Linked DNA regions of Homo sapiens: regions 2, 3 and 4 are each linked to region 1. The links are contacts of gene promoters, found by promoter capture Hi-C in human tissues and cell types (Jung and others, 2019). All regions are on one chromosome and are shown on one strand. Each heading gives the region's core, a stretch centred on a gene start or on the middle of the fragment in contact. The rest is flanking DNA. Distances are from core to core; before and after follow the strand shown. Region 1 holds the start of BMP3 (bone morphogenetic protein 3). Region 2 overlaps CFAP299 (cilia and flagella associated protein 299). Region 3 overlaps CFAP299 (cilia and flagella associated protein 299). Region 4 overlaps CFAP299 (cilia and flagella associated protein 299).

What was found. Contacts are between HindIII fragments. The study calls those that stand out against the background at their distance.
Region 2: a contact is called between a fragment that was not itself captured here and the fragment with the promoter of BMP3 in region 1, in 2 of the 25 tissues and cell types used here (H1 embryonic stem cells and IMR-90 fibroblasts).
Region 3: a contact is called between a fragment that was not itself captured here and the fragment with the promoter of BMP3 in region 1, in 1 of the 25 tissues and cell types used here (H1 embryonic stem cells).
Region 4: a contact is called between a fragment that was not itself captured here and the fragment with the promoter of BMP3 in region 1, in 1 of the 25 tissues and cell types used here (IMR-90 fibroblasts).

The regions. Positions count from the first base shown.
Region 1 is chr4:81,029,197-81,032,205 of GRCh38, forward strand. It overlaps BMP3 (bone morphogenetic protein 3), which reads left to right and starts at 1,512. Exons shown (of 3, transcript NM_001201.5): 1 at 1,512-2,404. The coding sequence starts at 2,089. The HindIII fragment of the contact is 7,363 bases long and covers 1-3,009 here.
Region 2 is chr4:80,635,932-80,638,940 of GRCh38, forward strand. All of the region lies in intron 3 of CFAP299 (cilia and flagella associated protein 299), which reads left to right. Among named protein-coding and RNA genes, the nearest start is that of CFAP299, 300 kb to the left of the region's middle. The HindIII fragment of the contact is 7,577 bases long and covers 1-3,009 here.
Region 3 is chr4:80,652,696-80,655,704 of GRCh38, forward strand. The region is part of intron 3 of CFAP299 (cilia and flagella associated protein 299); the gene reads left to right. Among named protein-coding and RNA genes, the nearest start is that of CFAP299, 320 kb to the left of the region's middle. The HindIII fragment of the contact is 4,846 bases long and covers 1-3,009 here.
Region 4 is chr4:80,714,823-80,717,831 of GRCh38, forward strand. The region is part of intron 3 of CFAP299 (cilia and flagella associated protein 299); the gene reads left to right. Among named protein-coding and RNA genes, the nearest start is that of BMP3, 310 kb to the right of the region's middle. The HindIII fragment of the contact is 4,552 bases long and covers 1-3,009 here.

The DNA of each region.
Region 1 (3,009 bases), core at 262-2,761:
TTATTCACCATCAAAGAAGAAACTCAGATCTGGAGACATGGTGTGACTCCAGGAGCCTATCTTCTTTTCGATCAACTCCATTGCCCTACAGAGGGGAAGAGGGATAAATGCAATAGACATTGACTGAAGATTTTACTGCATATGGTCAAGAACTGCACTAAACATTTACATGGATTGCACACTGAAACTTCAGTTTAAATGCTAATTTCACTATTAATAGTGTGGTTATCTGGCCTGAGGCCAGAAATCAGACTCCCTGAATTTGGATCTCAGTTCTGTCACTTACTATGTATCCTTTTGCCTCAGTTTCCTCATCTGTAAAATGGGTTTTGCTGTGAAAATTATTTGGTAATATACTTGAAATATAAATAACAAGGCATGTCTAGAGCATAAGTGTGGAGAAAAATGTTAGCTCACAGTTGTTTTTTGTTTGTTTGTTTGTTTTTTGTTTTGAGACAAAGTTTGCTCTGTCACCCAGTCTGGAGTGCAGTGGCACAATCTCGGCTCACTGCAACCTCCATCTCCTGGATTCAAGCCATTCTCTTGCCGCAGCCTTCCCAGTAGCTGGGATTACATGTGCGCACCACCACGCCCAGCTAATTTTTGTATTTTTAGTAGAGATGAGGTTTCACCATGTTGGCAAGGCTGGTCTCGAACTCCTGACTTCGTGATCCACCCGCTTTGGCCTTCCAAAGTGCTGGGATTACAGGCCTGAGCCACTGCGCCAGGCTGCTCATAGTTTAATCTCCATTGTACAGCCATGACAAGAGAGAATTAGGAAGACAAAGCTAGCGACTCTTACATTCTGTTCCGGACTCCGGGATCTTCCACACACCCTTGTTTTTAGCCACCACTGCACCATCCTGCTGGGAAACCTTTTGGGGACCTGTAGGAAGGAAACCTTTGGGGGAAGCTGTAGGTGGGGTTGTGGTGTGTTTGCTTGTTTTCTTATTTGTTTTTAACATGATATTGACTCGCACATATTTCTCACCTCGAGAGAAGATGATGCGGGAGAGAGGGGCGTTATGATGGGTATGCTCTCAGAAAGACAGGAAGCTATGATGACGGGCTGCAGGTGCAGGGGCCCGCAGTGTCCGTCAGAAGAGGCTCGGGAAAGTAAGCGAGAATGGTGTTCACGTTGTGACTTTGTTTGGAATCATAAGACCGAAAAGCCAGGAAGAAGTTCTGTTTTCCTCTGCCCTCTTGCTAGCCACCACACAGCCACTGTTCTTGGAGAATTAAAAAAAAAAACAAACAAAAACAAAACAAAACAAAACAAAAAAACCGTCCCTCCTACCATTTCTTTAGTCCTGAATCTCCTTTTCCCTTCCTCTCCCCAGCCATCCCCACCCCTACTTCCTCTTCTCTCCCTCCCGCTGCCAGTTCTCTGGTTACTCCCCCCCTCCCTTGCTTCTATCCCAGCCTGGTGCAAGCTAAGAGGGCGAGGACGAGGGAGTGGGAGAGATTGGCTGAGGACTCTACAGATCAGCTAGAGAGCGAAAGAACTAAGTCTCTCTCTCTCATACACACACACACACGCACACACGCGCGCGCGCGCGCGCACACACACACACACGTACACTAAAAAACTCGGACCAGCCGCGCCGCAGCTGCTCCAATCCCTGGAAAAGGCAATCGAGCGCCCTCCGGACCGCTGCGCACAGCCCCGGCTCCGACCTGGCGCCCAAAACAGAGCTAGTCCTAGTCCCTCGCGCGGCCAGTTTGGCCGGGTGTTCCCAAAAATAAAGCGAGGAGGGAAGGTACAGACAGATCTTGAAAACACCCGGGCCACACACGCCGCGACCTACAGCTCTTTCTCAGCGTTGGAGTGGAGACGGCGCCCGCAGCGCCCTGCGCGGGTGAGGTCCGCGCAGCTGCTGGGGAAGAGCCCACCTGTCAGGCTGCGCTGGGTCAGCGCAGCAAGTGGGGCTGGCCGCTATCTCGCTGCACCCGGCCGCGTCCCGGGCTCCGTGCGCCCTCGCCCCAGCTGGTTTGGAGTTCAACCCTCGGCTCCGCCGCCGGCTCCTTGCGCCTTCGGAGTGTCCCGCAGCGACGCCGGGAGCCGACGCGCCGCGCGGGTACCTAGCCATGGCTGGGGCGAGCAGGCTGCTCTTTCTGTGGCTGGGCTGCTTCTGCGTGAGCCTGGCGCAGGGAGAGAGACCGAAGCCACCTTTCCCGGAGCTCCGCAAAGCTGTGCCAGGTGACCGCACGGCAGGTGGTGGCCCGGACTCCGAGCTGCAGCCGCAAGACAAGGTCTCTGAACACATGCTGCGGCTCTATGACAGGTACAGCACGGTCCAGGCGGCCCGGACACCGGGCTCCCTGGAGGGAGGCTCGCAGCCCTGGCGCCCTCGGCTCCTGCGCGAAGGCAACACGGTTCGCAGCTTTCGGGCGGCAGCAGCAGGTGAGTGCGCGAGGTGAGACTCCCTTCCCGCGGTCCCGCCCCAGCTTTCTCCCGGGACCCCCCACAGCTTCCTTGTCTGCCCCTTGCTTGGTGGCGCTGCCTAGGGACCTTTCTCCGCCCTCCTCAGCTGCCCTCTGGATTCCTCCGTCCAGTCACACCCCGCGTGTCGCCAGCTGCATCTCCTGTAAGCCCAGTTTTCAAATCCAAAGTGAGAGGGGGAAATAGAATGAAGGCGCGGAGCAGTGGAGGGGTAGGCTGGAGGAGCTTCGTGGAAAAAGGGAAGGGGCGACACCCCATGCCTGTGAGGCCTCCTGCCCTGAGTGACTGGAGCACCTCTAGGGTACCTTATTCTGTTGATTCCTAAATCGGCCAGCGGAAATTCCTTTGGACTGGGCTTTAGCCATGTTTACTAAGAGGCAGATGCCATTTTATGCCAATGCCAGGACCCGAGAGAAATCATACTTGAATAAGACGCCTTCCCCTCTCCTTTTCTCCTTCCCCAGTCGCTTCTCCAGATATTGCACCCGCTCCTAATTCGCGCCCTTTGTGTTACTGTACTATATTTGACACTTTACTTGATAGTTCCTTAGTGGCAAAAAAAAAAA
Region 2 (3,009 bases), core at 343-2,842, 390 kb before region 1:
CACATTCTGGTAAAAATATATATATTTTCTGCAAGAGACTTCATGTAAGTTCACTGATACTAAAAGGAAATGTACATTGAAAAGCAAATTTTAGGATTTCTCCTCAGTTAATAGAAGCCTCAAATTAGAAAAATAGCAAATCTTTTTAGTACAATTATCACATATTCATGGTCACTAATATATCTCAGAAGGATTAAAAAATAAAGCTTTCTCTGAAACCTTCCTCCTTCTTTAGAAGTACAGACAGGGATTAGAGAGGAAGAAAGTGACACCTGCCTAGCTGGCCAGATCAGCAGCCTTAACTTTCAGGTGGCCTTAAACTTCATGTGACTCTTTATTGTATCCTCAGACCCTTCCTTTTCAATATTAAAAGGTCATCTATGAGTAAATGGAGCATTTCATTTGTAACCACTCAGAAGTGTTACTGAGTAATTATAAAAGTTTATTTTTCAAAGAAAAGCAATAAAGTTTACAAACGAGAATTTTTAAGATTAAAAAAATCTTACAAGTGTTAGCATTATGCTTCTTTGCATTTGTTCATAAATAGTCAAAGGACTGCTCAAGTGACTATAAAAATATTAGAGATTGATAGCATCTGCCTAGACTAAACTCTTTCAAATTATAAATGACGATGCTCAGATACGTTAAGACATGCCTAAAGTGACATGGCTGGTAGAAAAGTGTTCTAAATCAACATATCTTGGTATCCTATATTTATGACTTGTATAATACCTCTTATAGACTGAGATAGAGCAGGAGCTGGCAAACAATTGCTCATGGGTCAAACCCAGCCTACCTAATGTTTTATCGGTACTCAGCTGTACTCATTCATTTACCTATTTTCTATGGCTGCTTTTGCACCAAATGGCAAAGTTGACTAATTGTAACAGAAACTGTATGGCCAACAAAACCTAAAATATTTACTTGTTCCTTGTAGAGAAAGTTTGTCCACCCCGAGTACAGAAAATTAAGGTATAGGTATATATTAGAAAATAAAAAATTGAAGTTTTTAAAAAAGTATTGTTCACAAAAATAATAATCAGAATTAAAGAAAAAAGTTTTGTTCAATGTACCTATCAAATAATTGTTTGAAACTCCACTCTGAATCAATAAATAAAACAAAGACTATGAAACAAAAAAGACTATGTTCATCTATGGATGCTACAAAGAATAGTTCTATCATAAATTACTTTTGTTCATTTTTTGTAAAGATCAAGAACCTAAGTCCCACTATATAATGTTTAATAAAGATAAAGTGTTGGTTTAGAAGGTCTATAAAAGAGGTATGGTTAATATCCCCTAAATTGTATGCCAACAAAATAGAGGGAAAATGAGAAAAATATGCCATTGTCAGCAAGGTATAATAGATATAATATAATGTACAGTAAAAGGAGAAGTGATAGACATGCAATTTTTTTCCTGTGAAATGCCCTGACTTTGGAAAGAAATGGTTGTCAATGCCTGTGCATTTCCTTGACAGATTATGCCAGACTGCACAATGGCAGCATTTGTCTTTGGTCTGTGGACCTAAGACAGTTGCTATCGGTGGAACCTTTTTCTGTACAGGTAATAACAAGGTGGTCAGTCATGCAACCCAAAGATCGAGTTTAAAGTTAAAATTAAAGAGGAATTCCCAGCACTATAGCATTTCATTTTATGTAAGGCTCTCCACCAGCCAAACTCGTTTACTTGTCATAGCTACCCAAATGAGAATACAAGGTTGACATGAAAGATGCAAACATGTAAGGTAGTCTCATTCCATAGAAAAGGACCTAACAGAAACACTAGAACAAACCTATTAGATGACTTAAAAGAATAATAAAAAGAGTAATTAACAAAAGCATATAACCTCTATCATGTCCTTCAAAAACTAACATGTGCAAACAGTAGTTCAACTTGAGGTCACGTTGCCTTGCTTCCAACTCTTCACTAGAGAAGCCTCATTTAAAGTCAGTACAATCTCTGTATTTCTTTTGTCACACAAAGTTGACTATCCTAAAATATTTAATTTAAAATATCCTGGTTGATTTCTAGCAATAAAGAAAATATTTTTTATTAACTTTCTACATGTAATTAGCATTTTATGTGAGAGAAAATTTGGTGGCTACAGGAAATCTTCAAGTGTTCAGAGTTCAAGGAGATCCAGCTCATCAAATCCTTTTTTATTGACAGATGAGAAACTGAGACTCAGAAAGCCTCATTGCCAGAGTCACACAGAGAGTAGGAACATGGCTGGTAGACCAGAAACAAGTAACTTCAACTTCCTGCTGCAGGCCCTTTTCACAGTGCCATCCTGATCCCCCTACTTGGAGAACTTTTATTCAGTTTTAGTAATGGGGTGTGGAAGGGAGCTAATTTATGCCAACGGGCTCCAATTTGAGAACATTTTCTTCAACATTTGAAGATTATGATGCACTTTATCGATATATGAATTTGTGATCATATAAGCTGTGAAGCCTATTTAGCCATGCTTCTTGGGTCTAGTGATAGGTCTCCCTTGATGAGAATGCAAGGTTGACATGAAAAATACACAGAAGTAACATAGCCTTATTTCAAAGAAAAGGAACTAGAGATCTCCGAAATCAGAAACACTAGAGCAGGCCTATTCAATGACTTAAAACACGGAGTCCAACACTTGAGTCATGCTTCCCTGAGAATATAAGGATGCAGCTACAGGTCACAGTTTAACTGCCTGGATTGTGTCCCTGACTAGAGTTTCTGGATTATCACAATGATCATATTTTCTGATGGTAAGTTCTATTATTCTCTTTTAGTTCCTGTTAAATTCAAAGTCCAACAACAATGCCAAGTGTGATCCATCATGGGTGCCTGCAGTCACTCTTAGGTTCAGCGAATATTTTAGGGCACTCAATATGTATTAGGTTGTCTGCTCATGCTGCTATAACAAAATACCATGGATGGGCAGCTTAAACAACAGAAATTTATTTTCTCACATTTCCAGAGGCTGAACGTTTGAGATGAGCGAGTGTGGTAGATTTCTATTGAGAG
Region 3 (3,009 bases), core at 228-2,727, 380 kb before region 1:
CTGTGTTGACCAACTACACTTCTCATGTCTCTGTGCTGCCTCTAGTGCTCCCTCATTCCTCTCTGGTGCTTAGCCCTCCTTGTTTTGGTGTCCAGAGTTTTCTCTGAAGAAATATCCTAGGGAAGTTCTCCCCAGCGTCATACAAATAAACTTGAGTTCTCAAATCCGACTCGCCTCCAATGCAAAGTTGACGTGCCTATGCCTTATTGCCCTGGAATTGCATACTCATGCTCCATGTTTTCCACATAGGGAATCAGGAAGTATAGTAAGTTCATCTTTGAAAGCTGTTAATAAAAGAAGTAGAGTCCCCTCCTCTTGTATTTCTCATGTGAATTTAGAGACAATGTACCCTGCTTTTGTTGTCTGCTTAAAACTGTGAAGTGATGGTTTCCATCCTACATCTCTTTTCTCAGGTCCAAACCTCTGTATTCAGCTATATGCACACTTGTATATCAGATATACATAAAACTGAATGCATAGTTTTTCATACTTATCCAAAACCTCCTCTTTCTGTCCCACATTTTGACAAACGGCAGATCTACTGTCTGATGGTTCAGGTAAGGCACACAGGAGATATCCTAAAGCCATTTCCTCCTCACCTCTCCATTTTTAGTGATGTTTCCTTTGCCATCTGTCTCCTTTTCTCCATCCCTCTGTTGTAGTTTAGGGCTTCATTTTTACTCAACTGGATTATGTATACAGTACAAAAATTTAAAAAATTACAAATGGCCTCCTACTGATCTATAATGTCATCTACTCAAATATGCTTTCTACCCAAGGTGAACACTATAGCATATTCTTCTGTCAATGCCATTCTCCTGTTCAAAAATTACAGTGTCTTCTCATTGTCCTTATCAGTGGTCCCCAAACACATACCTCAGAGGGACAGAAAGATGAGCAAGTAAAGTGTATGAAAAAAACATATTAGCACTTCCATTTATATTCGTTTTGAATGTAACACAAGGACACAATGCTTTATATAATAAAAGGATAGTATCAAGAAAAACTTCATTTTACATTAAAATGTGTTTGAAGCATACAATACATTTTTAAGTATTTTCACCAAAACCATTGTCTATCACTTGAAATACTAAATTCTAATATTGAAAAAATTTTCATAGTCTTAAGATGTTATTCGTGTTAAACAATAATGTAGTAGTCTTTTCTTGCTGGACATTTCATATGAGTGTTTTATACAATGATTTACTGCCATCAAGTTTGTGTCCTATTTGTTCATACATCTTTAATATGTGTTTATATATATGTGGGTATGCATATCATGCTAATATAATGTGGTGGGAAAGAACTAATGCATTGAGCTGAGTTTATTTCAGATGCTTGCTCTGCAGTTATGACATTTGGGTTATACAGTTTGCTCAAATTATGGCTAACCTGTTAAAAAGCTCCATGACATTGCGGTACTGGGGAATGATGGGCAGTTTCTTAAAGCTTAAAGATTAATATGATCAATAGTAGCAATACATTATTGAATTCATGTTTTACAAATCTTTGTGTCTTTTTAATTGCCTGTGTTCAAAATAGATAAAGTGCATTCAGTTATTTTTTATGCCCTCAGGATAAAGGCACCTGGGAGTTTTACTCAGAGCAGATATTTTGGTGGTATTTATTGGTCTGGAAGATTTCTCATGGAATTTTCTGTAAACTCTGTTGCTCCAATGTCTGGATAGTATGTTTATAGTTCTTGGGCTTTCTTCCTTTCTTCAGCCTTTAGGGTAACTGTGTTTTAGGTTTCATTAATCTATTGTAACATTTTCTGTTCTAAATGAATGATTATTTGAAGGCAAAATGCCATCAGAAATTAAAATAAACACATAACTGTAAGCATGTCCACAGATCCACCTTCTATATTGCACTGAGTTAATAATTTGTGCAATTCAATATTCATTATTCTAAGCTTTTTGAGATGAGGGAATGGGTCTGACTCAGTTGCTTAGGCTGAAATGCACAGGCAATGATCATAGATCATAGCTTACTGCAATCTCCTGGGCTTAAAGAATCCTTCCACTTCAACCTCCTGAGTAGCTGGGACTATAGGCATGCATGCCACCATGCCGAGCTAATTTTTAACTTTTTTTTTTTTTTTTTTTTGGTAGAGACGAGGTCTCTTTCTATGGCTCAGGCACTAATAGCCTCAAGCAATCCTCTTGCCTTGGCCACCCAAAGTGCTGGAATTATAGGTAGTAACCATCATACCTAGCTATTCTAACTTACTATTTTTAAAAAATTAAAATATGTATTTTCATCTGTTGAAGTAACAAACATCCACACACTTTTATTTCCTAGTCTCTTTAGTCAGACCCACAAAATGTAATATTTTAATAAAAGACATTAAGAGTGAATTCTAGGGCGATGCCAGTTAATTAATAATACTTAATCTTTTACCTTTATTTAAAAATAATTCTCTAGGAGTTTGTGTACTATACAGAATAAATGACAGACAGTCAAAACTTTCGGTGAGACTGATTGACTACAATAGGTATTATCCATTTAATTATCCATAACATATCGGTTGTGCATTTACTATTTCCAGTAATCTAATTTCTGGCTAAGCAATCTCTCTAACATTATGACAAGAAAATATTTAAGATGAAGTAAAAGTAACACTGAAAAATACAAAAATAAGCTATCGTCTATTGCTGCCGGATACAATATGATGAAATACTGATTTTAAAAGAAATATTCTGGAATCATGACAGGAAATGTATTTTATATATCTTAAACTCAAGTCTGTAAAAGCTAGAATGGGTACACAGAATTGGTATGGTAAGTGGGTCCTGCAGCTGTGTTGGCTCCACAAATGCTTTGCATGTGTTGTTCTTGAAGAGCAAATAAAAGAGAAACCCCCTCATTTTTCAAGGGTATGGGAATATGTTTCTTTTTTTCATTTTAATAATGGTACCAGATAGGATTCCCATTCTATTTTCTTAAAATATTTGAAACAGTGAGTAGACACTTCAACTTGAAGACACAGCTGTTCAGACGATTAGG
Region 4 (3,009 bases), core at 209-2,708, 310 kb before region 1:
TACTTCCAGACCATACCATGTAGGAAAATTGAGCCCGTTTTGGAAATCTACTAATCATACTTCCGACATTGACTATTTTGTATGTTATTCCAGGAAAAAAATATCAATTCTGACACATGACAATTTCTTATAATTGCATTTAATCAAAGAGTTTATGTTCAAGCTACCTAGAGTTCTTACTGAATTCCACAGGGCTGACTCTTGGCAAGTTTAGGAGTACCGATAGTCTTACTAAAACCTCACAATTTTCCAGGTAGTTCCCTGTCTTACCCAATAAATCTTAGTTTCTCTTCTCAAAAGTTATTAGACTTCCTGGGCAGAGTACCAAGTTGGGCAGATGTTTTGAAGATGTTCTGATCAATCCAAATTAGGAAATAGGTGTTTGAAGTTCACTATATAAACACAATGATTCTGAAACTTGGCTATGTGATTTGGTTGGAACATAGTAAAGAAATACAAAGCATTTTGCTGCCTCCATATAACCCAACCTTGTTTAAGAGAGGGGGAAAAAGGACAAGTTGGCTTACCTCAGATATGTTGATTTCCCTATAAATTCTGGCAATGCTTAGGTCTATTTGCTGCTGATAATAACAGATCAAGCAATACTTTCCACAAAAAGGTTTGTTTTGTTTTGTGATGGCAGACATTTTTTTCTTGTTTCTGATGTGGTAATAGCAAACCTTTTAATTTCCTGAGGGTTGTCATAAATATTGCACTTCTGAAAGACCAAAATGGGTCTACACTTTGTGTTATCAAAGAAATATATTCAATTTACCATCAAATTAGTTAACATTATGGCATATGCTTTTTAGAAATAAAAAATTATTTTCAAAAAACAAAAACTGGTTTAAAATATATAAAATGTACGTTTTTCTTTTAAATGCATTTTCTCTTAAATATTGACTATATGAGTAAAGCACAAAGTCTTTTGTGCTATTGGCCATTTGATGGAATTTGATGATTTTTAAGACAACTCGCAATTATCACCACCATTTTATTGATGGAAGTTTCAAATTAAGGGCTGTAATGCTGATAAATGTAGAGCAGTGTTCAAAAGTCAAGTCCAATATTGTTTTCATCAAACCTTCTTGAATTCGCCTTCATTTTAAGAATAACCATGGAAAAGCAAACTTTCAGTGTAAACAATTGTTATTTTTCTGGGAATCCAATTTGATTTTTAATATGTCTAAATCTGAAAAAAATCCTTCAAACTAACTAGGATAATGTTGATAGAATTGAAAGAATTTGGGAGTAGTTACCTAAAAGCTATAAACCCACAAATACAAATAAAGAAGAAAACAAAGCTTGCTCAGTAAAATAAGTACAGGGTAAGAAAATAGGGATAACTGTGTTAACAATCTTTTTAAAATTTTGAAGTGTTATATTATTGCAATATGACTTCCATGTGGATATCTTGCTTGCTCTTCCCATGACCTCATGAGAGAAACAAGGCACGTAGTATTTTCACTTTGCAGATGAGAAAAATGAGATGTAGAAAATGTACATAATCTATTGCCTGATAGCAAGTGAATGTCAATAAGGATAGTATTGATATATTCTATATATATATAATATATTCTATAAGATATATCCTAATATATTCTATAAGACAGATCAATTTGGGCTTCAGTTGAGTTCACTGATGACACATGATACACCCATGGAAAAACACACACAATCAAATTGTGCCTTGCTTCAAAATATTCACTCCCAATGTGCAAGCTTACATTACATTTGTATGCATCGTTGTTCTTCCACTAACAAGCTAGATGATTTGGCTCTAGTTGTGATATATTTTGTAGCTTACTTCTTTATTTATAATGCAAATGAGCATCCTGCCCCATTAAAGTTTGTACCACTGAGTGAAATTACATGATAAAGCACCTGTCTTTTATCGTGGTACATAGGTACTTCTTTACAAACCAGTTTAGTTGAATCTGAATATGTATATACATAATGTATAGCTGTGGATTAGGGAGTCCTAGCTGGTTCCAAAGCAGTGCCAATTCAGATGATCTCTGATGGTCTGTGGTGATTGTCAGTGATAGAGAGGTTGCCCAGGAATTGCAACCTACTGAAAACCTTTGAAGGAATGTGTTTTCTGATTTTCTGGTGTCTACTTCAGACACAAGTTCTAGAGATGTCTCTGGCCCTAAATTTAAACCTGCACAACTATTGGGAAATGTATTCATTTACCCATTCATTTATTTAATATTTATTGAGTAACCAATGTTGTGTAAAATAATCTGCTCAGTGCTGGGGCTACACCAATGAATACGACAGATACGTTTTTCCTTTTTTATGAAGTTTTCAATATGTCAGGAAGAAATATAACCACACAATAACTATGAAAAAAATGTGATGAATACTATGATAGGGTAAACTAAGGTGGGGTGGTGACATAGGACCACTTAGAGGAGTATCTGACCTACCCTAAAAGGGATGGTCTCCCTTTGTAAGTGAGCATGTGTAAGCAGAAAACTGAAGGATGAGTTGAGTTTGGCTGCTTTTAAATAAGAGAAGAGAACCAGAACGTCTGGCAATGATTTTCTCTTGTACAGTTCCAGCTTCTCCCATGACATTTGAGATATACAAAGTCATATTTGAATGCTTTGTTATGACCGCTGTTACTGGAAATAAATTCAGGTCAGCAGAAATCACATATGACTACTAGTCTTTTTCCAACTACTGGTAGAAAAAACATCTAAAGTCCTGAATTCCCCCAAAATGTATTCCAGACAGGCCTTTAAGTTATTTATGTCTCAGGATCATTGTTTCAAAAAATTACAAATGTCTCTTTATAGGAGAATGTATTAATAATTATGAAAACAAGAATGACTGTATATCCAATACCTGCTATGTGTCAAGAATGTTTTACATTCATTAGTTCTAATTTTATCAACAACCCAACTAGGTTGACATTTTTATCACCATTTTGTATAAGTAAAAAATGCAGGAAAAATAGTCTAATTCTCATTTTATCCTCTTAATTGTAAAGTTACACTTTTA